Regions from separate parts of the Homo sapiens genome. Here regions 2, 3, 4, 5 and 6 are each linked to region 1. The links are contacts of gene promoters, found by promoter capture Hi-C in blood cells and fetal thymus (Javierre and others, 2016). All regions are on one chromosome and are shown on one strand. The core of a region is centred on a gene start or on the middle of the fragment in contact, and the rest is flanking DNA. Distances in the headings are between cores, read along the strand shown. Region 1 holds the start of CDC73 (cell division cycle 73). Region 2 has its middle 19 kb from the start of MIR4426. Region 3 has its middle 16 kb from the start of RGS2. Region 4 has its middle 8.6 kb from the start of MIR4426. Region 5 overlaps LOC107985241 (a long non-coding RNA gene). Region 6 overlaps LOC105371665 (a long non-coding RNA gene).

Evidence for each region. The method cuts DNA at HindIII sites, captures the fragments that hold promoters and counts their contacts. A CHiCAGO score of 5 or more calls a contact.
Region 2: a fragment that was not itself captured here is called in contact with the fragment with the promoter of CDC73 in region 1 in 1 of 17 cell types (neutrophils); the score reaches 9.6 in neutrophils.
Region 3: a contact is called between a fragment that was not itself captured here and the fragment with the promoter of CDC73 in region 1, in 1 of 17 cell types (neutrophils). The highest score is 5.9, in neutrophils.
Region 4: a contact is called between a fragment that was not itself captured here and the fragment with the promoter of CDC73 in region 1, in 1 of 17 cell types (neutrophils). The highest score is 6.2, in neutrophils.
Region 5: a contact is called between a fragment that was not itself captured here and the fragment with the promoter of CDC73 in region 1, in 1 of 17 cell types (total B cells). The highest score is 5.0, in total B cells.
Region 6: a contact is called between a fragment that was not itself captured here and the fragment with the promoter of CDC73 in region 1, in 1 of 17 cell types (neutrophils). The highest score is 8.0, in neutrophils.

The regions. Positions count from the first base shown.
Region 1 is chr1:193,120,469-193,124,345 of GRCh38, reverse strand. CDC73 (cell division cycle 73) reads right to left here and starts at 2,315. Exons shown (of 17, transcript NM_024529.5): 1 at 2,015-2,315. The coding sequence starts at 2,145. RefSeq lists enhancers at 1,878-1,927, 1,527-2,171, 2,198-2,267, 2,172-2,818 and a silencer at 2,428-2,507. The HindIII fragment of the contact is 13,310 bases long and covers 1,171-3,877 here.
Region 2 is chr1:192,695,659-192,699,843 of GRCh38, reverse strand. No RefSeq gene overlaps it. Among named protein-coding and RNA genes, the nearest start is that of MIR4426, 19 kb to the left of the region's middle. The HindIII fragment of the contact is 1,946 bases long and covers 1,333-3,278 here.
Region 3 is chr1:192,822,899-192,827,357 of GRCh38, reverse strand. No RefSeq gene overlaps it. Among named protein-coding and RNA genes, the nearest start is that of RGS2, 16 kb to the right of the region's middle. RefSeq lists an enhancer at 1-776. The HindIII fragment of the contact is 1,543 bases long and covers 1,442-2,984 here.
Region 4 is chr1:192,722,821-192,727,092 of GRCh38, reverse strand. No RefSeq gene overlaps it. Among named protein-coding and RNA genes, the nearest start is that of MIR4426, 8.6 kb to the right of the region's middle. The HindIII fragment of the contact is 4,229 bases long and covers 843-4,272 here.
Region 5 is chr1:192,629,108-192,633,462 of GRCh38, reverse strand. All of the region lies in intron 1 of LOC107985241 (a long non-coding RNA gene), which reads right to left. Among named protein-coding and RNA genes, the nearest start is that of RGS13, 4.9 kb to the left of the region's middle. The HindIII fragment of the contact is 750 bases long and covers 2,588-3,337 here.
Region 6 is chr1:192,772,433-192,776,400 of GRCh38, reverse strand. All of the region lies in intron 1 of LOC105371665 (a long non-coding RNA gene), which reads left to right. Among named protein-coding and RNA genes, the nearest start is that of RGS2, 35 kb to the left of the region's middle. The HindIII fragment of the contact is 5,622 bases long and covers 1-3,968 here.

The DNA of each region.
Region 1 (3,877 bases), core at 1,066-3,565:
CAATAAATAGTTAACAACCATATTTTTTCTATTTTCAGAATAGAAAAGAACAGAAAAATAAAATGCACTGCATACAATAAGAAGAGTAAGTATTGTTTAGTGTTTTATATGTGTATATATTTCCATGTGCATGTGCACATATAGAAAATAAAAACAATTTCTTGGTGTGATAAACTGCTGAAAAAGTTTAAAATCTACTGTGATAAGCACTCCTTTTTCACTGGCTTCACTGGATTGCTGTCAACACATTTACTTTCCAGTTCTTTATGCCTTTAAGCATACAGCCTTTAAGTATACAGTTCACTCATCTTGGAAGACTTAACCCATCATTTAGCCCAGAGAATTCCTACCTATTCTTTAAAGCTTGTTTGTTCATTCATTCATTCATTCAAGAAAACTTTGTTGGATGTGAACTTGCCAAAGACAATTCTATGGAACCTTCTCCTAAATAACCCCAACTAGAAGTGACTGCTGTCTTCAAAAGCTATTGTAGAAAGCATTTCACATCAACTTATAGAAAGCATTTCACATCAACTTATCTGTTTAATCTCCTCTATTCAGACTAAGTTAACCTCCTTTGAGGTAGAAACCAGAGTCTTAGGAATTTTTTTAATCCTCAGATTGAACCACTTCACACCCTAGGTACTCCTTAGCCATTGTCTAAAAAAAAAAAAATTCACTAAAAATCCAACCACATGTAATTCTACCTATGCAAATTATTCGAAAGGGTAAAATACCAGAAACTCAGAATGTCATTTGATCAACATTTTATAAAGCTAATTAAATCATAAGACAAAAAAATTTTAAAACCAACCAATAGGCAGGGCGCCGTGGCTCACGCCTGTAATCCAAGCACTTTGGGAAGTGGAGGCGGGCAGATTATTTGAGGTCAGGAGTTCGAGACCAGCCTGACCAACACGGTGAAACCACATCTCTACTAAACTACATAAATTAGCCGGCCATGGTGGCGGGGGCCTGCAACCTCAGCTACTCAGGAGGCTGAGGCAAGAGAATCACTTGAACCCAGGAGGCAAAGATTGCAGTGAGCCAAGATCGCGCCACTGCACTCCAGCCTGGGCGACAGAGCAAGACTCCCTCTCAAAAATAAATAAATAAATACCAACCAACAAACTAAATTTCCCTAGTTTTTCATCGACTCTTCATAAAGCTTCCATTCAAAGAAACAAAATGAGTAGGGAAGTTGTAGCTCAAGGTTCTAATTCTAGAAGCGATGCACCAATGACAGTGACATCATTAAAAAGGCCCCTAATGACTGTTAGAGCCGTCTCTAGAAGTTTTCCTGAATGACTTAAACTGATAAAACTTCACATGGACCAACATTCCCAAACATTTCCCTTTAAAATACACTTCCGAAAAATCACACGCACCATCTATTTCTTAGATCTGTAAAGCTCACTCATTTCACCAACTCCTGAAGACCTCTCTAACACAGACTTTTATGACTCTTCCAAATTCACCAAATTTCTTTCCGGTCCTAACTTCAGGGTTGATTCCCTTTTCTCTTCTACAGGAATCACCCCCACCCCAACAATGAAAGGAGATGAAATAAACCAGGAGTTGCAAAGACCAGCGGAGATAGTTACATAGCAGCCTGGAAAAGAGAAAAAAAAAATAAAGAACAAAAAGAGGCGTCTACGGCACCAGACGGTGTGCTCCTTTGTGCACCTATGTTCAGGTATCCCTTGCGCACCAGTCCCACACTTCGCTGGTACACATACCTACTGATAAAAATTAACTGTAAAAGTCAGAAACTCCCACGGTACCTTTCCTTTGGGCTTCTCAAAAATTTTAAGTGATGAACTGCTCTAGAGCTCCGCCCCTTCTTTCCTTACCCTAAAAGTGCAACTTCTGCTCTAGAGAGAAACTTTCTTTTCCCCGAACACCCGTTTTATCCCATCCCCAGGGGAAACGGGGGGAGGGGTTAAGAAAGAGGTCGCCTGGGGGCGCCCAACTCTGCCCTGCCACCCCTGGGCCACAGCCATGCCGGACTTACCCCCAAACAACATAGTTGGTCTTCACATTCTTGGGCCAGGAGAACTCCCCGAAGATCACTTCGTCTCCCTTCACCACAATCTCCTTCTTCTGGATGTTGTACTGTCGCAGGACGCTAAGCACGTCCGCCATCTTCCCCCCCCTCGCCTCCGCCGGCTCGGGGCGCCGCCGCTGCCGCCGCGCCTGCCTCCTTCTTCTCTTGTCGCCTCGCCCTCTTCCTCCTCCTCCTTCGCCGCCGCGACGAACCAACAGCAGCAGCACTAACAGCCGTCCTCGCCTACGACAGCAGCAGGGGCAGTAGCCACCCAGGCCGCCGAGGACCCCGCGCTGTAAGGCAAGGCCCCGCCGCCGGCTGCCCGCGGAGAACGCCTGACTGCGCCCCTCCAGCGAGGCACATCCGCCGCCAGGGGGAGCCGCGACCGCCTGGAAAAGTGCCCCTCCCAGACTTCAGCTGGGCACGGAGCCCACTCACTCGCTGAAACGCTGAGCGCTGGGGCACCGCGCCCACGTACGGCGCACGTACGGGGAACTTTGCCGGGCGCGCGCGCGCGGAGCACGTACCCAGTACCCCGCGGCGCGCACCAAGCGGCGTCAGGTGCGCGCGTACCTGAGCAGTGGGTCAGCACTTCCATCCCCAGCACGTGCACTGAGTATTTAACGAACTGTCTCGGGTGCGACCAGAGGCTCCCCCGGGTCCCTGCTTTGGCCGGGATGGAATTCGGCAAGGATTTGCGGAACACTAGAATTACCTTCCTATTTAGATCGGACCCAGGCCTAGCCAAAGACCTCTAGGACTTAGTGATCCGGAGAAGCCCTTTTGAAAGAGTGGGGCTCTTGGGGTTGGGGTTGGGGTTTTTTGTTTGCTTTTGATGTGGAAAAGAACGAGTTTTGGTTTTTTGTTGGTTTTGAGTGGAAAAGACCGAGTCCAGAAAAAAAAAAAAACAGTTCTGGGCACTGCTCGTCAAGTTACATAGCTTCTCACAGCATCAATTGGTTAATGAAGAAAATGGGGTTAATACGAAGATAAGGTAAACGCGCCTAGCAAGTCAATAAAATATCCTAAATGTTGGATCCTCCCTCTTCATTCTTTGGATGATGACTTTTTCCATCGCGGTCCCTTCTCCCCGCCAATCCCGAAGGGCTATATTCAAAAGGCTGTGTTCCAAGATGTAAATGGGAAAGTTGCCCTAACAGAAACCCCAAACGGTCCAATTTAGAACACTTCCAGACTACCCAATTTTTTAAATGGTACTCAGAAGTCTCAGTGGTGTCCTTGACATGCGTTTTGAGACGGTTAAGATAAGTTCAATATACTATGGCCAACCAAACACATCCTATGGGATTGTTTTTTTTCTTTTACCATGTCAGAAGGAAAAAAGAGGCAACTTTGTGTTTGACATAACCAAATTCCTTGACCTGTTTTGAAAAAAGTCAATCTTTTCACAACGCAGAGGACTACAGATACAGAAGTGTGTGGTTCATTTCCGATATGATCTGTAGCCATTCTGCAACTGTTAGTTTGTGAAATTTTTTTCTGTTCCACCAATGTTTTCACCCCGTAGTATTCTCCTGAATCTCACCCCAAGCACACACATTATAAAGAAATGGCTACAATTACCTATCCCCACATTCTCTATTCATACCTGTGTCAGAGCACTCAGTACCATATTACTTCCCTTTATAGTTTATTTGCCTGCATCCACAAAACTGAAACACCATAGATCTGTGTCCTCATATCCTACTGTCTAACATTATTTGGTACATATTAGTAATAAATGGATGAATTCAATAAATTGATGGAAGCTCCTAGTAAATATCGAGTTAATACATGGATAGAGGCTTCTAATAAATGTTGAAGTAATGA
Region 2 (4,185 bases), core at 1,056-3,555, 420 kb after region 1:
TTTCTCCTTTTGGGGCAGGGGGTGTATAGCTTTGCTGAAGCACTGTAAAGTGTTTGATATAATCATAGAAAAAAGGAGAAGTAGAACTATTTCAGTTGGAAAACTAAAGGAGTGAGATAATCAATGGACATAATTTATATTTACAAAAATCCTGATAGTTAATAAAGATCTTCACACATATATGGACTTTCCTAATATATATAATTCAGTTTGGAAAGTGCTTTTTGTCCTGTTAAAAAACTTTTGAGATAAAATAAATATGAAGGTCATATCTTAATAAAGTATTGCTAAATTTTTATCTCAATTGTATTTTAGAGAAAACTAAAATCTTACATGTTATAAACTAGACTCAGGTAGAATCTCTTTTAAATAATTTAACACACATTTATAAATATGCACAGATATATCACTACATTTTCACTGTGCTTTATTTATCATTAATTTGTTATAACTTCTACTATGTTTATTGAGCCTTTTTGAGAACAGCCACTGTTCACCTAACTGTATTTTGCCAACATTTACTTATGATGTTCTTGATTTAATATGATAGGGTTTATTTTTAGGGACTAAAGAGAGTTAGAAAAAAAAAGAGTTAGTAGTTCACAGAAAAATCATCACCTTTATATACCCTTTGCCTATTACACACAGGTTTATATCTGCTTTGTAAAAGAACACTCACACAATACTTGTTAAGAACCTTGTCTTTGGCTGGATGCGGTGGCTGATGCCTGTAATCCCAGCACTATGGGAGGCTGAGGCAGGTGGATCGCTTGAGCCCAAGAGTTCGAGACCAGCCCGGGCGACATGGCGAAACTCCGTCTCTACTAAAAATATAAAAATTAGCTGAACGTGGTGGCATGCGCCTGTGGTCGCAGCTACTCAGGAGGCTGAGGTGGGAGGACTGCTTGAGCCCAGGAGGCGAAGTTGCAGCCCAGATTGCATCACTGCACTGCAGCCTGGGTGACACAGCAAAAAAAAAAAAAGCTCTGTTTTATGTGGTCTTTGGTCTTTCAAAAATTGCAGGATGGCTCATATTGACCCAGGTGAGCATTTTTTTTTTTTTTTTTTTTGCCAGTCTGATAACATAATTTCTGTGACTATTTTAAAGAACAGCTGACTTTAGTACACTGTTTTAATACTTTGCTTCTCTTAACAGGAGCCATTAAGTTGTGAGAAATTTTAGTACTCGAGTTGTGTTGAATTTTTTTAGTTTTCTTCATAGCATAAAACTTCTCCTGAAAAGGAAGAGGTCAATATGGACATCACAGTGGACAATTTCTTGGAAGGATGATTTAGGCTTATTATGAAGCTTATTAGGCTTATTATGAAGCTTATTAGGCTTATTATGAATTAAAACTTATTATTAAGTATTAATGTAAATTCTCATAGGGCCAGGCAGATAACATAAATGAGATAAGTAGGAAGAATGAGAAAGTGTAATACCCTAGAGCTGTGAGGTCTACAGAAATCTGTAGCCCACATTTACGTGGTCCAAATAAATCACTTCTGAGAGCTTCATTTGCTTTTTGAAATTCTTGGTGCTGTCTTGTCTTAAAGCATGGGTCACATTTGAGTAGCGCAGTGGAGAAGGTATCTTCTAAGACTGGGGACCACTATAAGTAAAATTAAGAAAGAAAAATATCCTGGTAAGTGGGGTTGGCTTTAGGGGGTCAGCCACACTGTAGGGCAATAATGTTCAACAAGGGGTGATTTTAAGAGCATGTGATACTTGTCAATGTCTGTAGACGTTTTGCTTATCACAACTGGGGAGGGATGCTACTGGCATCTCATGGATAGACACCAGCAGTGTGCTAACACCTTATAATGCACAGGTCATCCCTTCACAACAGAGGATTATCCAGTCCAAAAGATCAGTAGTGCCCAGATTGAGAAACTCTGCTCTAGATGAATGTGTGTGTTGGGAAATAGGGGGAGGTAAAGTTAGATATTATATTCTGCAGTTTTTGGAGTTTTTTGAGACAGATCTCACTCTTTTGCCCAGGCTGGAGTACAGTGGTACGATCTTGGCTAACCACAACCTTAATTAACTTCCCTGGCTCAAGTGATTCTCCCCTCTTCAGCCCAAGTAGCTGGGAATACAGGCTCATGCCACCATGCCCAGCTATTTTTTTTTTTTTTTTTGAGATGAAGTCTTGCTCTGTCGCCCATGCTGGAGTGCCTTGGCTCGATCTCAGCACACTGCAACCTCCGCCTCCTGGGTTCAAGTGACTCTCCTGCCTCAGCCTCCCAAGCAGCTGGGATTACAGGCACGTGCCACCACACTTGGCCAATTTTTTTTTTTTTTTTGTATTTTTAGTAGAGACGTAGTTTCACCATGTTGGCCAGGCTGGTCTTGAACTCCTGACCTCAAGTGATCCACCTGCCTCAGCCTCCCAAAATGCTGGGACTACAGGCGTGAGCCACTGTGCCTGGGTAATTTTTGGATTTTTTGTAGAGACAGGGTTTTTGCTATGTTGCCCAGGCTGGTCTTGAACTCTTAAGTTCAAGAAAACTACCCGCCTCAGTTTCCCAGAGTGCCGGCATTACAGGTGTGAGCCACCGTGCCTGGCCTGCAGTTTACTATTAAAACACCCAGCATAGAAGGTGGTAGTCAACTTAATCTATACTTTAAAGTCCGTTAGTTAACATGTTAGGTACCTTAATCAGGAATATGCACTCCAGGGATGATTAGTTAGTACATGAAAATTTCTAAGTAGAGGCCCAAAGACCAGAGGCCTGGGCATTCAGAAGGTTTCAATGTCTTTATTTTAATTAATATCAGTTGCCTTATTAATTAGTATAATGGGTGTTAGATATTACTTTTAATCTGTGAAATGAGGGCTGATCAGGCTAGAAATTTGTATGGGCTTGGGAACTGGTGCTTAAACAAGACAGAGCAATCTAGTAAGCCCAAGAAATTACATCCTTTGGAAAGGCATCATAGGTTAGAATTCTGAATCTTTCCTGTGTTCTGTTGTTTATCAGAGGATATTGTTGTGAAACCCTGAACAGAAGGATAGTTAAATTCCTCTATTAGAATCTGCTTCAGGTGAATTTTCCACACAGGCCACTATCTTAGTCCATTCAATTAAAGTATATTAGACGAAAATACTGTAAATTGGGTAGCTTATAAAGAACAGAACTTATTTCTCACAGTTCTGGAGTCTGAGTGGTACAAGATCAAGGTGCTGACAGATTTGGCATCTGGTGAGGGCCCCGTTTCTCACGGATGGTGCCTTCATCCTGTGTCCTCACGTGGTGGGAGGAGCAAGGAAGCTTTCTGGGGTCTCTTTTATATAAGCACCAATCTCACCTATGAGGGCTTTGCCTAAGGCCTTACTGACTCCCAAAAGGCCCCACTTCCTAATGCCATCACCTTAGGGGTTAGGATTTCAACATATGAATTTTGTGGGGCGCAAACATTCAAACCAGAGCAACCACTGTTGGGACACCTGAAAAGCTAAGAGAGATGAGCCTTCATGGAGCTTAAAGAACTGGTGGTATGGCAATTTAGGGGTAAAGTGACTATTTGCATAAGTAGCAGAGTCAGCTCTGAGTCTTGCTTTCACATTGGTGTATTCTGAGTGGCCAGGCTGTGGGAGAGAAGACCCACAGGATACATCTTCTTCTAACCATTGGTTACAGCTGAAAGCTACCAAAATGAATCCAATACTTGTGAATTAACAATGTTCTTAGTTTAGTTTAGTGCATTCAGTCTACAAAAAACCTCGAAAGAGGGGTAGAAGAATGTGTATAAGCCAGGAAGTTGATATGATGGGAATTTGGAGCAGGGAATACTTTATTACTTATGTTTAAGATTAAGAAGAGGGAAAACGAAGGGGTAAGAAAAGCAGTGAGAAAACTGTTAAAATAAAAGGTGTGAGGTGACAAAAGTCACGATTCTGTTGGAGTCAGGAGCAATTGAGGAGAGACAAATTGGAGAGATGTGTTGAAGGAATGGTAATAACAATATAGCTAAAATTTATAGTTCTCTATTTTTTCGTTACTATGCTACACTCATTTCATGCATTTTCTCACTTAAATCTCAGAACAATTGTACAAGTTAGATACTATTGTTACCTCTATTTCATAGGTGAGAAAAATCAAGCACCAAAAATGTAAAGGGCTGACTTAGGGTCATAACATTAGTAAGTGATGGGCCTAAGCTTTCAAGACAGATTAGTG
Region 3 (4,459 bases), core at 964-3,463, 300 kb after region 1:
CAAACCCAGATTTATCTTTTATGACAGTTCATAGGATGTCCTGTAAACCCTACCCAGATAGGAGGTGTGGAATGTCACCCTTCTTTACAAGTTGTCATACTTGATGCTGGTACCATTTCCTAACTCTTAGTCATTTCCTTTCAATTCCTGGATAATGTTCATTCCATTTCTTGAACTTATCTGGGTAGCTAGTTAACATAAGAAGTTAATTTTTTAAATCATTATTTGCTTTCAAGAAGACTTTGCTATGGAGTAGGGCTACATGGGTTAAAGATTTATGAGATTGCACTCAAGATTTTTATCTTTTTGTATTTTTGAACTCTGGCTAACTAAAGATATTACCATTAGTCACTGGCAGATCACTCTGGAATTTATCTGAATCCATTTTATTTCTAGGGTTATACTCTCCAGACTGTTGCCCCAGGACGTGTTTACCTTGGCCTTTTGAATGTGGGTAAGGAAGTGGAGGAGGGAAATGGCATTTTTGTGACTGGACCTGGAAACTTTGTGTCACTCATTAACATATCTATGAGGTAGCAACATGCATGACATCTGTGCCAGATGGTCTGTGAAATAGAGAAAATGTGCATACATTTTGTTGTCCAAATTCAGATTAGTAGTAGTAGATAAGTAAGAAGATACTAGAAATGTTACAGCCCAAGAAATAACTAGTAATAGTTGTTTTAAATAATCTAAGAATGCTTTTTTTAATTAAAATAGAAATACGCAAACATGAGGTATTTGATAAATCCTAAATATACCATTTTTCTGCAGTATAGACTTATTTGTTCATTTAGTAACATTGATTAGGCATCTGCCATGTGCTTTATACTCTGCTAAACACTGAAAATAAAAGGAAAAAATGAAACATAGTTCATTTCCTCTGAGGAATTCACCATCTAATGAAAGAGTAGATACACATTTAAATGCAAAATGGGTGAATAGTCCCTCTCATGTCCTGGTGTATGAGTTTTCCCTGCTGCTTCACCACTTGCCACCAGGATGACAAACACCTGTATCTCCTGTCAGAGTGGAAGGCATGCCTATGAATATTCTGGGCCATTGAAAGGGGATTTCCAATGTAGTGGAAATTAAGAAGGGGCTATCCTGGGGAATGGAAAGCCCATACCCAAAGTGATGGATGAATGGTTAACTTTACTTCTCAAGTGGGGTGACAGGTGGTGATCTCTGAGTTTTGAGGATGGTTTGTAGGCTTGGGCCACCAAGGCAACAGCCTTGCAAGACAATAAGACAATAGATGGCTCCCTACTCCTCTCCAAGTCATCAATCTAGCTCTAGTTACTCTTCTCCATGTGACCCTCGGGGGGTTAGAGAGGGTACCTGGAAGTTAGAAAGCCAACGTGTGCTCTAAAGAAGGGAGTTGTGCCCATTGCTTCATCTTGGAATATAATTCTTTGCTGCTTCTTTCTGGTCTCAAGCTTTTAATATTTTTCTCTAAAATGGCTCATGGTGGTTCCATGCCATGGACCTTGATGGCTATGTGGTGATTCTCAGAAAATTGTTTGTAAATGCATAAACAAAATTTATGGGATTGCAAAGGAAACCAGTTATACTGAAATATAGTAATCAAACTATTAAAAATGGTAATAGAGAAGACTTCTACTTTTTGGAAGATGGAATAGACATATCTTTCCTTATTTCTCCCACTAATTTCAACTAAAAACCCTGCATATTATGTATGAAACAAATATTAAAAACTCAAGAAAATGTAGAGAGGTAGAAGGACTGGTTGGAGACTTTGGGTCCCAATGAATGATATGGTGGTAAGTTCCTTAGACTGTCTTTTTGCCTTATATTTCTCAGACTTGGAGCCAAAAAACTGGCAATCCACAATAGCCCAGGAAAACAGAAAAAAAAGTCCCCGAAGAAAAGTCTTTTTTCTTCAGCCAAAGAACTAGGAAAGGGGAAGCCTAGCAAGACAGATACTTTTAAACAATAAATGTCCACCTCCACCTAAGCCAGTAAAGGCTGAGTGGGGAGTATAATCTTCTACCTTTGTCAAGCTGTAAGACACATGACCATCAGTGGCAACCTGCTGGGAAGCTGAAATTCTCACCCCTGTCAAAAAGTAAAAAGGAGAATCTCTTCCTATTGGGTATCAATAAAGGCCAAACAAACCTGGACTTATATCCCACCTGAAAAAATAAGGCAGCATCCCCCTTCTGCTGAAGTAGCATCAAATGAAGCCAGCTAAAACAGAAGTTTAAATATGATCCAAGGTCTCATCATAAAATACTCAAAAATTTCAAGTTTTAATAGAAAATCACTTGGCATATTAAGAACAAAGAAAATATCAAGTTGAATGAAACAAGACAATCAGTAGATGCCAACACTGACATGATAAAGATATTAGAATTATATGACAAAGATTTCAAAGAAGCCATTATAAAAATACTTTAATAAACAAATACAAACATACTTAAAACAAATGAAAAAATAGAAAATGTAAGCAAAGAAATAGGAAGTCTCAACAAAGACGTAGAAGAGATAAGCAACCAAATGGGAAAATGGGAACTGAAAAATACAATAACTTACATAAAAATACTTGATGAATGGACCTAACATCAGAATAGATGAAACAGAGGAAGCAGTTAGTAACATTGAAGATAAGGTAGAAATTACCCAATCTGAAAAAAAGAGAAAATAGACTGAAAAAATATACAAAGCCTCAGAGACCTCTGAGACTACAGCAAAAAAAATCCTAACAATTTTGTCACTAGACTTCTGAAAGGAAAGGAAAAAGAGAGTGGGTCTGGAAAAGAACCAAAAAAATTAATGGCTGAAAACTTCCAAAGTTGGCAAGAGAGCTAAACCTACATATTCAAGGAGGCAAGTAAATCTCAAAAAGGATAAACTCAGAAATCTACATTAAGACACCTCATGATCACACTTCTAAAACTAAAGACAAAGGAAAACATCCAAAAATATTTTGGACCTAGGGCTAGACAAAGAGTTCTTAAGCTTGACATTAGAAGCATGATTCATACAAGGAAAAATTAATAAATTGGAGTTCACTGAAATTAAAAACTTTTGCTCTGTTAAAAGGATAAAGAAACAAGCTATAGGTTGGGCAGAAAATGCAAACCACATATCTGATGAAGGACTTGTATGTAGAAAATATAAAAAACACTCAAGTCTCAACAGTAAAATAAATAATCCAATTAGAAAATGGACAAAAGATATGAACAGACATATCACCATTAACACAAACTGCTCTGAGGATGGGCAAAACCTCGATCACTCATAAATACATTGCTGGTGAGAATGTAAAATGGTACAGAGCCACTCTGAAAAAGTTTGGTGGTTTTCTCATAAAACTAAATATGCAACTAGTGTATGACCTAGCCATTGTACTCCCGGGCAGTTATTCCAGAGAAGTGGAAACTTATGTTGACACGGCAACATGTACATGAAAGTTTATAATAGTTTAATTTGTAATAGCCAAAACTGAGGCAGTCCAGATGTTTTTCAATGGGTTAAACAACCTGTAGTATAGTCACACTATGGAATACTAGTCAGCAGTAAAAGGAACAAGCCACTGATACATGCAACATCTTGAATGAATCTCCAGAGAGTTGTGCTGAGTGGAAAGGTCATCACAAAATGTTACATACTGTAGGATTCCATATCAATAACATCTGAGAAATGACAAAATTGTAGAAATGGAGAGGAGATTAGTGGTTGCCAGGGTTTAAGGATGGTATGGGATGGGAGGGAAGTATGTGAGGCTATAAAAGTGCAACACATGGGATCCTTGTGGTGATGAAAATGTTCTGTATATCTTGACCATATCAGTATTAAGATCCTAGTTCTGATATTTTACTATAGTTTTTCAAGATGTTATCACCTGGGAAAAGTGAGTAGCGAGTACGCAGGATCTATCTTTTTTTTTTTTTTTTGCAACTGCCTGAGAATCTACAATTATTTCAAAATAAAACATTTAATTAAAAAACTATGATAGAGCAATATACTGTTTGTACTTTATTAACACTTTAAACAAGATTTATTTTCAGATCTAGTTACTATTGAAGGTTGGAAATAACAATCTTTAACAATTGTAATGTGAAAAGATCTGAAAATTCTGTTTGTGGTAGTCACATGTACTGCTACTGCTGCTTCTTTCTCTCACTCTCTCTTTCCTTCTTTTCTTTTCTCCTTTCTTTTCTTCCTTCCTTCCTTCCTTTCTTTCTTTCATTGAGATAGAGTCTCGCTCTGTTGCCCAGGCTGGAGTGCAGTGGTGTGATCTTGGCTCACTGCAACCTCCACCGCCTGGGTTCAAGGGATTCTTGTGCCTCAGCCTCCCTAATAGCTGGGTTTACCGGTGCGCACTACCACGCCTGGCTAATTATTTTTTATTTTTTGTTTTTTGGAGTTTTACTAGAGATGGGGTTTCACCATATTGGTCAGGCTGGTCTTGAACTCTGGACCTCAGGTAATG
Region 4 (4,272 bases), core at 1,708-4,207, 400 kb after region 1:
TGTTCTGATGAACCCACACCTCGGAGGCTTCCCCAATTTTAACAAATGATGACACTCAGCTTCTACTTTAGGGACAATGAAATGGGAGGCACCGAGAGATGTTCTTTGCCAAGCCTCATCTTTATGGCAGATGGTCACTGTAGCAACAGCCATGTCATTACACAGCACTAAGGTCACTTTGGGTCACCAACGATCTTGTTCCTAGATCACCAACCTCTCCTCTTGTTATTCTTTGCTTTTTTTTTTTTTAACAGGTTATAACTCAGAGCTCTCTCCTTTCTCTGTGGGAGCAATTGCTGGACCTCAGGATTGGACCCCCACAGCAAAATGGAGATGTGCTAATTCCTGGGTGGCAGGAAAATATGGTAGTTCATGGGAAACCTGTTGCTGGAGTGGTCAGTATTTGAGCAAGAAGTTAAGTCCTCCTCCCAGAATATCATCCATCTCAGTTTCTGATTTTTTTTTTTTTTTTTTTTTTTAGAGGGAGTTTCACTATTATTGCCCAGGCTGGAGTAACAATGGTGCAATCTCTGCAACCTTTGCCTCCTGGGTTCAAGTGATTCTCCTGACTCAGCCTCTTGAGTCGCTGGGATTACAGGTGCCCTCCACTACGCCTGGCTAATTTTTGTATTTTTAAGTAGAGACAGGGTTTCACCATGTTGGCCAGGCTGATCTCGAACTCCTGACCTCAGGTGATCCACCTCCTTGGCCTCCCAAAGTGCTGGGATTACAGGCGTGAGACACCATGCCTGGTGGTGCAGTTTCTGCTCTTTTTGCAGCTGTCAAGAATAACCAGCATCAACCCTGGGATATGAACAAGTAACTCTGAAGATGCTGAAGCTTAAAGGGCTAAGAGAGTTGGAGCCTGAAGAAAAGAAGGTTTCTTTTCATTGGAACACATAAGTGCTCAGTGTTTCATTTGGAATATCATATGATACTGTTTCCCAACTTTATGAAAACTAGATGTTTTGGCTGTATTTCTAAACTTTATAACTGTTATATAAAATGTGTATCTATTTTACCTATGGGGAAACTTAGATTAAGCAAGGTGAAATGATTTACCCTTTGCTGGTAAGTAGTAAAGCCAGACTTGAAATCAGCAGCTACAAAGCCAGGCTTTTGCTACCATACTGTCTGTTATTTACCTGTTTTTTCTCTTCATACATATGTTTGGTGTGTTAGAATAAGACATTGAAAAAACAAAAAACCAAAAAAGAAAATGAGAATTTTCACACCTGCAACTTGAGATCCAAATCCCTGGCCCAGAAAACATTTTCATATTAAGCTAATTCTGTATTCTCTTATGTCATTTTTCTGTGAAATACAACTGTAATCAGTAAAATTTAGAAATTAAATACTCCTTTCCAGGAAATGCTGGAAGATAATATTTACAGAAAGTGGGAAACAACAAGATTATATTATATCATATTACATTATAGATAGATGGCTGAAATGCCAATTTGTTACTTTAAAAATATCCTTAAATGGCAATTTTTTACAATGCAGCATTACAACTCTTGGGGTCATTGGTAAGAATAAAGAGTTCTTAGGAGAACATCATGCAATGATATGGTTGGTAACAGAGACGTGTTATAGAGGGAATGAAAATGTTCTAAGAAAATTGACAGCAATATTTTACATTTGTACAACACAATTTTCAAATGTATGCATGGTTTGAAAATAAATATATACTTGAAATATATATATATTTGAAAATAAATTAAATATGATTTATTATATTTAATTTGGTCAACAACCAGGTACAGTAGTAGGACAAGTACTATAACGTTCACCTTTTAAGATAGGGAAGTTGAGGTACAGCGAGGTCAGGTGCTTTTACTCAATGTCACTCATCAAGTTAATGATAAACTGGGATTAGAATTTGAACTTTCGGTCTTTCAGTCTCATGCTCTTTTCATAATCTGGAATTTGTTACATTATTTTTTTCACAAAAAATATGAATGAGCCTCTGTAGGTTTCATTGTGTTAGAATTTTGCAAAACATTTGAGCATGCTGTTAATTTGGAAAGGGTTATGGTAATCTTTAAGCAGAGAGTGCCGTGATTCTTGAGTTCATCATTTGTATATGTTGCAGTTTGGGGAGAGGGTCAGACATGCGATTATGTAGTGTCTTAGGAGGAATTTGGCTTGGCCTTAATTCTCAGTCATGAAGCTACAGTGACTCAGGGATCTGCTGGAACAATGACATGGAATTTACTCATCAATGGGCCATTAAAAATTAGACACACATAGCTGGGTGCCGTGGCATGCTGTAGTTCCAGCTAGTTGGGAGGCAGAGGCAGGAGGATTACTTGATCCAGGAGTTCCAGTCTGTAATAGGCTGTGATCACATCTGTGAATATCCATAGCACTCCCGCCTGGGCAACAAAGTGAGACCCCTACCTCTAAAAAAAAGATAGACAAGTAACTGATATTTTAGTGTATTTATTATAGGTTGAACAGTATACAATATTTTTCCCTATTTTAATTATTGTTATAATTTAGTAAGATTTAAGTATCACACCTCATGTAAAGGAGAAAGAGCTTCTATTGAATTAATGCCAGAATAATTATGATGTTGAAATTAAACTGGTACATAAGTGAATGATTGTCTTGGTAAGCACAGGGCTCATATTGTCTATTATTTAAACAATAGAGGGCTTTTCAAAGCTGATTTATTAAAAATACGCTGCAAAAATTGATTTAGGATACCACTTAAAATACAAATGTTTTCTCTGATTTTTGAGAAAAGCATTATTGAATGCATCGTTTCTCCCACTATGACTGAGCATCCTGAAGCATTCTGTTAGCTCCAGTACACACAGAAGAAAGCAGTTGCTTTTGCCCCTTAGAGTTCCTCCATAGACAGTACACTTTGGTATTTGTTTAAAAGAACCAAATTAGTTAAGAATCATGCAGATTTTGCCTCCTCTAGTTTGCCAATTTAATCACATACAACATAACTTGAGTTGTACATCTTGTATTCCATAGATTTTATGGCAAGACTTGTAGAATAAAAATGAAAAAGATACATGAGGGAGAAACATTGTGCTGTTTCAGTCACTTTACTAATGGTTTTATGTGGGCAATTTCATTTAATCTTCAGAACAATTCCATTATGGTCCTCATTTTCCCATACATTTGGAAGAACCAAGGTATGGAGACTAAAGAGCTTCCTCATGGTCACAGAACTGGTCATTTTCTGAGCCAGGATTTGAACTGGGCAGCCGGACTCCAGAGGATGGCTTTGTACCCAGGCCTGTGCAAGCGTAAGCCCTTCAATTGTACACTATTTGGATACTTTCTTGGAGTGTGGAAAGGAGGGTACACTGGGCCACAGTCTTAATATACATTCTGGAGAATGTCATTGTAAAAGTTAGTGAAATTATCAAGCTGGGAATTTACTCTCTATTTTTTTTTTCTTGTGGGGATTTAATCGACAATAGAAAGCAACAACTTTATGAAGTTTTTCAACAGGAACTCTGACCATAACTCTATAATAAACTTGTGAGAAACAGCCATGGTATAAGTTGACACCAGCTTGAATACGTTTTGGATCGTTGTCTGGTTCTGAGGAATAAGCCCCATTTGTCAGTGTGTGCCTCAAGAGGTGCGCATGGCAGCTTGGTGTCCATACGGCATCCATTCACAGGGAGGATTAGAAAACAATTTTGGGCCGGGCGTGGTGGCTCACGCCTGTAATCCCAGCACTTTGGGAGGCCAAGGCGGGCAGATCACGAGGTCAAGAGATCGAGAATATACTGACCAACATGGTGAAACCCCGTCTCTACTAAAAATACAAAAAATTAGCCGGGCGTGGTGGCGGGCGCCTGTAGTCCCAGATACGCGTGAGGCTGAGGCAGGAGAATGGCATGAACCCGGGAGGCAGAGCTTGCAGTGAGCCGAGATCGTGCCACTGCACTCCAGCCTGGGTGACAGAGCGAGACTCCGTCTAAAAAAAAAAAAATTTTTTTTGGAACAATATCAAGTGTTGTCATGAATAGACTCTTCAATCTTTCCGAGCAGAAGTGAAGCTCAAAGAATAATTTAGCTCCCCTAATATTACGTCAAGACTGGTTCAATGTCGAACTGAGTTGGTTGGTAGGAATTAAAACCATGCAGTGTTTATGATAAAATGCATATTGTTGAGAGCTGACCCTTTTAGCACCTATTTGTGAGATCTAAATTTCTTGTGTGTGTTATTTATGTGGAGAGAATAAAAGGAGTAGAATAGGAGACGTAGATACTCTATTCTGACAAGTTCACTCTGTT
Region 5 (4,355 bases), core at 1,713-4,212, 490 kb after region 1:
GAGTCTATTAGCTCTTTTGTACTTTCACATTGTTTGATCTGTGAAATTCTCTAAGGATGGGGTTAAGGGCACGTCCCTTTGAAGAGGATTTGCACTGGCTCTGTCAGGCAGCCCAGGCACTTCTCTAACACAAGACTGCTTTGTTATTTTCTTAGCTTGGGTCTCCTGGACCACACAGGTAGGGTAAATTTAAATTACAGACCTGGTTTTATGCTGAAATAGACATGTTCCTGTCATCAATTTTTGTAGGTGACTTGTTTTTTTTCTGTCTGCTGTTTCACTGAAGGTATAGCAGTTCAAGAGCCCCCGGCTCATATTAGGACAGCCTTTGATTTTGTTTCCTGGCTTGCAACAGATCTTAAAAGCCAGATCTCTAGGTTACTGAGATTAGCAAATGCTGAACTCAGCTAAACTTTAAATGCCAGTTTATCACTCTGATTTAGGATTCCCTCTGTTTTTTTCTTGATTTCTCTTAGTTTTGGCAAGCTTGCCTATGCATTTAAATGGGGTTGTTACATATTTTTTTTTAGCATTTCTGGATGTCTGGTAGAGAGAAGATTTTCAAGATATGTCTCGTCTACCATGCTTTCCTTTTATATAAGATAATGTTATATACTCATTTTAGATAAAAGTAAATGCAATAAAATGTCAAGGAAATTGGAACTTTAGCATTTCCTTGTTATCACAGATGGAAAGCATCGTTTGCTTCTTTAGATGCGGAATGCTTTGAACATACAAGGCCCACTGATGTGCAGTTGCAAAGCTGAAGCCTGTTTCCAATCACCTAATCAACTCACTATCCCTTATTGTTTAGATAAGCCTGTCCTGTTCTGCCATGTGCAAAGTATATAAATTTTCTACTATAGAAGTACAGAACAAACATACTTGTGCCACATTTCCGGTTTTTTTTTTCTTATCACAGAAATTAAAATGGTTTTTCTGTAGATCACCATTGAAATACTTTTTGTCTTATTCTTGAAACAAATCTATCCTCAGGACTTACGTGGTGTCTGGTGATTGAGGGCAGTAGATGGCTAGGTAGTGAATCAGAGGCAGGGAACATTTTAAAAGAAATAGGTACCTCAGTCAGCTGATAGGAGAGACTAAAAGAGCGCAGAGCTCAGAATTAGCCTGCATTCCTTCTCCCTGCTTTACCAAAGGAGTCTCCCACTTTTCTCATTCATGCTTCAAATGCATATGTGGACATAGCATTCAGACTGATGTAGTAGATGCTCAATAAATATTCAAAGAATAGATGGATATAGTTTTTTTTTCCCAACAGGATTTATCCAAGCTAAAAACTACCCTAATGTTCATTTTAACCAATTTTCACTTAGATAAAAATTATAGGGTGAAGTTTGGGAAGGATTATATTGTACAAGCTTCCCATATCTCATACTTTCCTAAGAAGTAGTTCTGCCTCTCTGACTGTAACCTTTTTGTAACCTATAATTTGTGTAGTGGTTAATGAGATATATCTGGAGATGCTTTGTAAGTATAATTTACACAAATATATATTTTTATGAGGCATGCAAATTTAAACAATGGTGTCCTTGTGACTTAGTCAAACAAGGAACTAGAATAAAATACAAGGCAAATGTTTTTCTTTAGGATTATGACACTATATCTTAAAACCTCTGAAAGATATGATAATGCAAATAAGATTAGATAAAACAAGTTTAGTTTTGTAGAAAAGGCAAAGAATTTTAAAAATTGCAATCCCAGAAGCTTCAGAAACCTACTTTGGTATGCTTTCCTCCATACAAAAAGTGTTGTTTAATTCCCCCTCAAGTCTGAATATTTGAGGAGTTGCTTTAAGAACTGTAAAACTAGTGCATCAACTACATGCTTTTTGCAGATATGGAAAATATTTTCTTAAAACATTTTTACACAAAGGAAAAGTAATTTTGCCCAAAGAAAATAACATCCAAAGGAAAATGAAGAGTGATTGGTGTTATAAGAAATATAATCCTGGAGGCCTGGAACTACATAAGGCATCCTGAATGTACAGCGTGGGGCCAATAGAGATTACACAAATGATTTTTATAGATGAAGCTGAGCAAAGGGGCAGAATGGGAAGAAGAACAACGGGGACCGAGACACAAGAAGGATGACTTTTGTTTGAAAAAGAAAATGTTCAGGGCATTAAAAACACATGCCCTTTTTTTACCCCATAACATTTTCAAACACTACAGAAAATAATATCTAATAAACCGTGAAGCTTGTTTTAACTCTTTTAAAAACTTCCAAACAAAGGAACTTAGGAAAAATGGCATTCTAGTTATATTTTCCCCCAGATCAGTGGGAATTTATTTCATCTTATTGCTTTTCCAAGTGAGTAGGCAGAAAGTAAATAGAAATGTGAAATTTGTATCGATTGTTTGCTTTCCTTATAACCTTTGCCAAAGAGCTTTGTGAAGGCAACTTTTCTAATAAGGAAGGTATTTTTATATTTAAATGTTGGTTGTCTGTGTAGGAAGTGGAAGAGCTTGTTTCAGAGACTGCTTCTCCAACCCCATTTTAAAGCAGAAGTTCCATCACGGACATTTAGAGGTTAAAGGAAATTTAGATAATCTAGTTCAAAGCTTTCATGTAATGAAGAAAGAAATTGATCTCTTGTGCGTTGCCCTGAGCCACACAGTAGCTGAGATATAGCTGAGTCAAAAACTCAGGCTGCCTAACTCCTGCGTTCTGTGTACTTTAAGGTCCTCATTCCCTTTCTGGCTTACTTCTGGTTGAAAATCAGATAATTGTGTATATCTTACATTCTTATCTCAGTTTAGGTAACAGCCTAAAGTTTTTAGGCCCTTGTGTCTTTGTATCTATCTCCTCTTCTTCTTTCTCTACTAGAAAAACATGTGACAAGATGCTGTGGTTACACGAATTCTCCCCTACTCTTGCTTTATTTTATTCACTGTAATTTATTCCATGTTGAGACTCTGGTCTTTTCTCTTAAGTGGTATTAACATGGTTTCTATTTGAGTTGAGTAAATGGAATATTATGCTTCTGAATCTAATTTTTCTGCCTCAAATGATGCAATTTGAGCATCATTCTTTAAAGACACACGATATATGCTGCCTTCTTATAATGAAATATCTGAAAGAAAATATAGATTAAAGAATGATTATTATCATTGAAAATGATTTATTTTACAAAAGAATTCTATAGGAATTCCATTAGTTAATTCTTCTAGTTTAAATGTCTGAAATTCAGTTTATGCCCAGTATTCAAGTACATGACATAAAGCAAAATACATTGGCTTTATACATTTTATGAATTTGCTTTATGAATTTTATGCATATTGAATTTGATGATAATTAAAAAAACACCCAAGCTTTTCTAAACAAAGAACTCCAGCAGCTCAAAAACACTTGTTTTATCTGATAACATAAATAATAATGTACTTAATAATATATTTCTTATTATTTTATTTTCACTTTCTGCCAAGGCCCGGGGAAACATTTAAATTGCTTATGTGCATGTTTAGAAATACACCGGAAAATCAAACATGCCTAAGAAAAAGGGGTCAAAAAACTATTGTGAAACAGTGGTAACTAAGGAATATTCCACTTAGATCTGTTCCAAGTCAAGCAGTGTTCCAAAGGGACCAAAGGGACCATGTGGCTTTATTTTTAGGCTGCAGTTCATTGACTCAGGCTGTCACTTCTGCTAATTGGCATAGCTGCTCTTAGCCTACAGATGTTTTATAGGGCCTAGATAATGGGAAATTAAACGTTTTATCTGTCACTCTGGAAAAAATAAACTGATTACTCTGTCAAGAAGACCTTGCCCAGGGTCAAGCTTTATTCTAAGGTGGACCACAAGCAAAATTATTTGAAGATACTGAGATTCACACAGTCCACACACACAGGGATTCCCTTGGCCAATAGGTGATGCATTAGTCAATAAAAATGCAACAGAGATTTTGGAGGCCATACTTGAAATGGGAATGTGAGGATTAGAAGACCTTCCAGGTACAATCAGTCTAGTGAATTAATTAGTAGGTAGCTTGGTCTCTGAGAGGTTGAGACATGAGACTATCAAATGGCAACAGCCCATGATATAAACCAATGGAGACAAAGGATTGGCAAAAAATCACTGGAGGTTGCTGTGGGAGAGAGGAAACACTTCATGATTGATGAAGACACCATGGTACACATGTTTAGAAGGGTTTAGAACTCAGGAATAAGAGAGACTGGTCTAGCTTCATGTGCATGTGACATGTCCCATGGTAACACAGGGCCAGAATTTGGTTTTAGGGCTCTGTTGTCACTGTCTTAATATTCTTGATTTTGAAACAAAGGACCTTTCATTTTCATTTTGCATTGGGCATCACAAATTATTTAGCTAGTTT
Region 6 (3,968 bases), core at 1,434-3,933, 350 kb after region 1:
GGTTTGTTTTGCATAACTTAGCATTCCTGAGTTTTATCACTCTGAGACATTGGTGAGATCCAGTTTCTGGTCCTACATGGTATGTGTGCCAGCGACCCCAGATAGTGAGCAATTTTCTGAGGTACGTATAAATGTGGGCCTCAGTGAATGGCCATCTTATTTTTTTCTAAGGTCCTACTCTTTCTCAGCATGTTCTTTAATTGAACTTCTAACAGTAAATTATTTATTCTTAAGAGGAAAAGAAGAATAGATGATGACATTAAACTTCTTAGTGCTTACATACTTATTTTTAGACATGTTGTTAACATTAATTTTTTGATGATTGAGATTTGTATAGCTTATTGCAATCACGAGCTCAATAATTTTTATAAAAAAAGGTATTACCCAGCTCAAAATAATGCCTTTTTTTCTCTAATTCCTGCAGCATTTATTATTGGAATATTTACTTTTAGACTTAATCACATTCCAGCTTTTGTTGCTATTCACATGTATATGTATTTAAGTTACAATCAAAGTGGAATGTCAACTTCAAGAGTGCACGAAACAGGGTCTGTAACTTCTTGTGAACTTCTAGGACTTTCTTTATACTGGGTACCACTTAGGTACTCAGTGAAATTGGCTACTGTTTACTCAGCATCTACTGGGCATCGAGTGCTTTGTAGAAATTCTCTCACTAGCATTGAATGTGTTCAGATTTATTATGTGTTTTGGAGATCTGAATATCAGTGAAATGACTCAGACTAGAGTTCAGAAAAAAATGCTTATATTATTTTATATAAAATGAATATGACTCCATCTCTATCTCACAATCTGCAGCAGCCTGTTTTTTTTCCTTTTTTCCCCCATCACCAGATATCCCTTTGGACCCCCAGGGTTATCTACTTAGTCTAATGAGACTGTCCCAAGTTTCTATCTCCAGAAAATTGAGAGAATTGGCTGAATGGCATCATTCTGAGTTGCTATTGCAAATGTTGCTGCTCTTGGTGTTACATCTGAAACCTAGGTGAGTCTGGGCAGACCAGAGCAAATGTCCTTTCACTGAGACTGTGGCCAATCCACACAGTAGTTCCTCAGAGGGCTGCATCAGGGTAGAAAGTCATTAGCCACAGTCTGTGATAGAACCAGATGTTTCTTACTAGATTTCTACAAACAGGAACACAATCTCACCCTAAAAGCACTGCTAAAGGAGACTCCAACATTCAGACAAGGTAAGCCCAGTAATCCACAGGATATTTTCCAACATCTTGCCCCACTGGCTAGTATACCAGAGGTAAAGAAATTTACTACATCTCTGACCACCCTCAGAGACCTGGAACACTTGGCTCTTCCTACCCTCTTCTGTCCCAGTGCATTACTTTAGGAAGAGTCCAACTTGATTGTTACTTTTCCTTTGAAAGCATCTGAAAAAAGAGAATGCTTATTGATAGTCACCTTTCAGATTTAGTCAATTTGTTAGAGTGAGAACTCAGTTTGCTGCACATGTTTCACACACTATTAGACAACAGCAGGGTAGCCACTGGAAGTACAAAGGGAAGATCTACCAAACCCATTTTGGCTTATTTTAATGCAACAATTAATAAGCCTTAGTTTTAAAACAAAAGATGAGTCTGAGACAAATGCTCAAGTGCAAATGCAAAAGTGAATAGGACATCAGAACAACAGGCAAAAACCTGGACCACTCAGGGAAACTGGGATGTAAACTCCCTCTAAGGAAAAGGGTCCTGGTGATATCCAGGAAAGAAAAAGAAGGTCAATATTGCTAAAATGCGTTGAGCAATGGTTAGAGCAGAAGGAGATGAGATCACAGAGGTGGGGATGAGCCAGATAGTGCAGGGCTTCTAGGCAATGGTAAAGGTTGTGGATTTTATTCTAGTTATAATGGAAAGTAATGGGAGGATGTTCACCAGGGAAGCAACATGATCTAATTTGCATTTTGTAAGCAAGTCAGCTTGCTTATGAAGTTCTATATTCTACACGAAAGCAAACTGATTCTTGCTTTTGTGTAGAATATAGAATTTTTGGTAAAAGAATGATGGATGGGCAAACAGAAGGAAATTTCAGCAGCCCAAGGTAAAGATGATAATGGCTTAGACTACCATGATAAAGAATGGAAAGAAATGGTTAGATCTAGGATATATTTTGGGGCTGCTGATGAGATTAATTTGGGGTGTGAGAAAAAAGGTAACCATTAGGTTTCCAGCTTGAGCAACTGGGTAAGCTATTGTGTCATTTGCTGATGAAGGGAAGATGGTGGAAGAACATATATGGCAGGGAAGCAACAATTCTGTTTTGGACATATTAAAATAGAAATGAATGCCATTTTTAGACAGAGAATTCAAGGGAGAGGCTGGAGCTGTAAATATAGATTTTTGAGAATGAATATAAAGGTTGTATCTAAAGATGTGAAGAATGAACTCACAAAGAGCAATTAGTTAGGCAAGAACACCAGAACAATGTGATGCTACAAAAGAAGAAAATTCTTCAAAGGGAAGGGAGTATTATAGTAGCTGTGTGCTGCTGAGGGCTTAAGGGCGGAGAAGTGACATTGGATTGGACACGATGGAGATTGTTGATGATCTTGCTTAGAACAGTTTCTGTGGAATGGTGGGGACAAAGTCCAGTTAGATCAAATTGAGGAGAGAATAGGAAGTGAGAAAATGGAGAGTATGACTTTAGACATCACTTTGGATGTTTCTCTTGGAAAGGAAGCAGAGAAATTAGGTTGTAGCTGCAAAGGAGGTGTGAACAAGGGAACATCTCTTTCTCCATTCATTCATTCATCCATCCATCCATCCATTCAACTATTTATCCATCCATTCTTCCATTAGGTATAATAATCCAATTGACAGATAGGCGGTAATTATATACATCAAGTCCTTGAAAAAGTCATAGGGGATCCAGAGCACAAGGGGACAATCATCTATGAGCAGGAATACCTCATCTATTGGGAGAGGAGGAGGAAAGGTAGAATTTACTAGTAGGAAAGATATATTTAATGGTAGAAAAATGAGGGCGTTCCCATTGCATTCTTTCTCCTTGCTTAATGAGGTATGAGGTCATTAGCAAATACTGAGAGGGATAGTCAGGAGTGTCATATATTTGAGAAGGAAGAAAAATGTGTGAAATAGTAATTTGGATAGTAGGGGAACAAATATACCAGAAAAGTGTAGTGCAATGCCCACCAGTGTTGAATGTCCATTTAAGATTTGAGGTCATGAATGTAACAATGGAATTTTTAGCTTTATTGTGTGTTTTCTTCATTTCTGAGTTAGATGCAGAATATGCAAGATGCTGTATTTAAATAGGGCCAGGGCTGGGCGCCGTGGCTCGCGCCTAAATCCCAGCACTTTGGGAGGCCAAGGTGGGTGGATCACCAGGGGTCAGGAGTTTGAGACCAGCCTGGTCAACATGGTGAAACCCTGTTTCTACTAAAAATACAAAAATGAGCGAGGCATGTTGGTGGGCACCTGCAATCCCAGCTACTCGGGAGGCTGAGGCAGGCGACTTGCTTGAACACAGTGAGCCGAGATCACACCATTGCATTCCAGCCTGCAGCCTGGGCAACAGAGTGAGACTGTCTCAAAAAAAGAAAAAAAAAAAAAAAAGGCCAGCATTTTTGCTGAGTCCTACAGAGTGAAGAAGGTGTATAAGAGCAGTGGCAGCATTGGCAATATTTACAATCAGCAGCCTGTGGTAATAATAAACAGCATTTGGACTTTTAGTTGGTTTTATTATTGTTTTAAAATTCTCTTTAGGCAATATACCCTTTATTGCCTTCACCTGAGAAGGATGACTCCTACTATGAACCCTCCCTGGGCCACTATAAGGGAGTCACGAGAGAATGGAAAGGAGCGTTATGTTGACTAACATGGAATCCAAAGAGATGAATAAATCTTCTACCTCCAAAGGCCATTTCTTAATTAAAAAAAAATCCTTTCACATTAGTTACCCCTCATACTTATAATGCT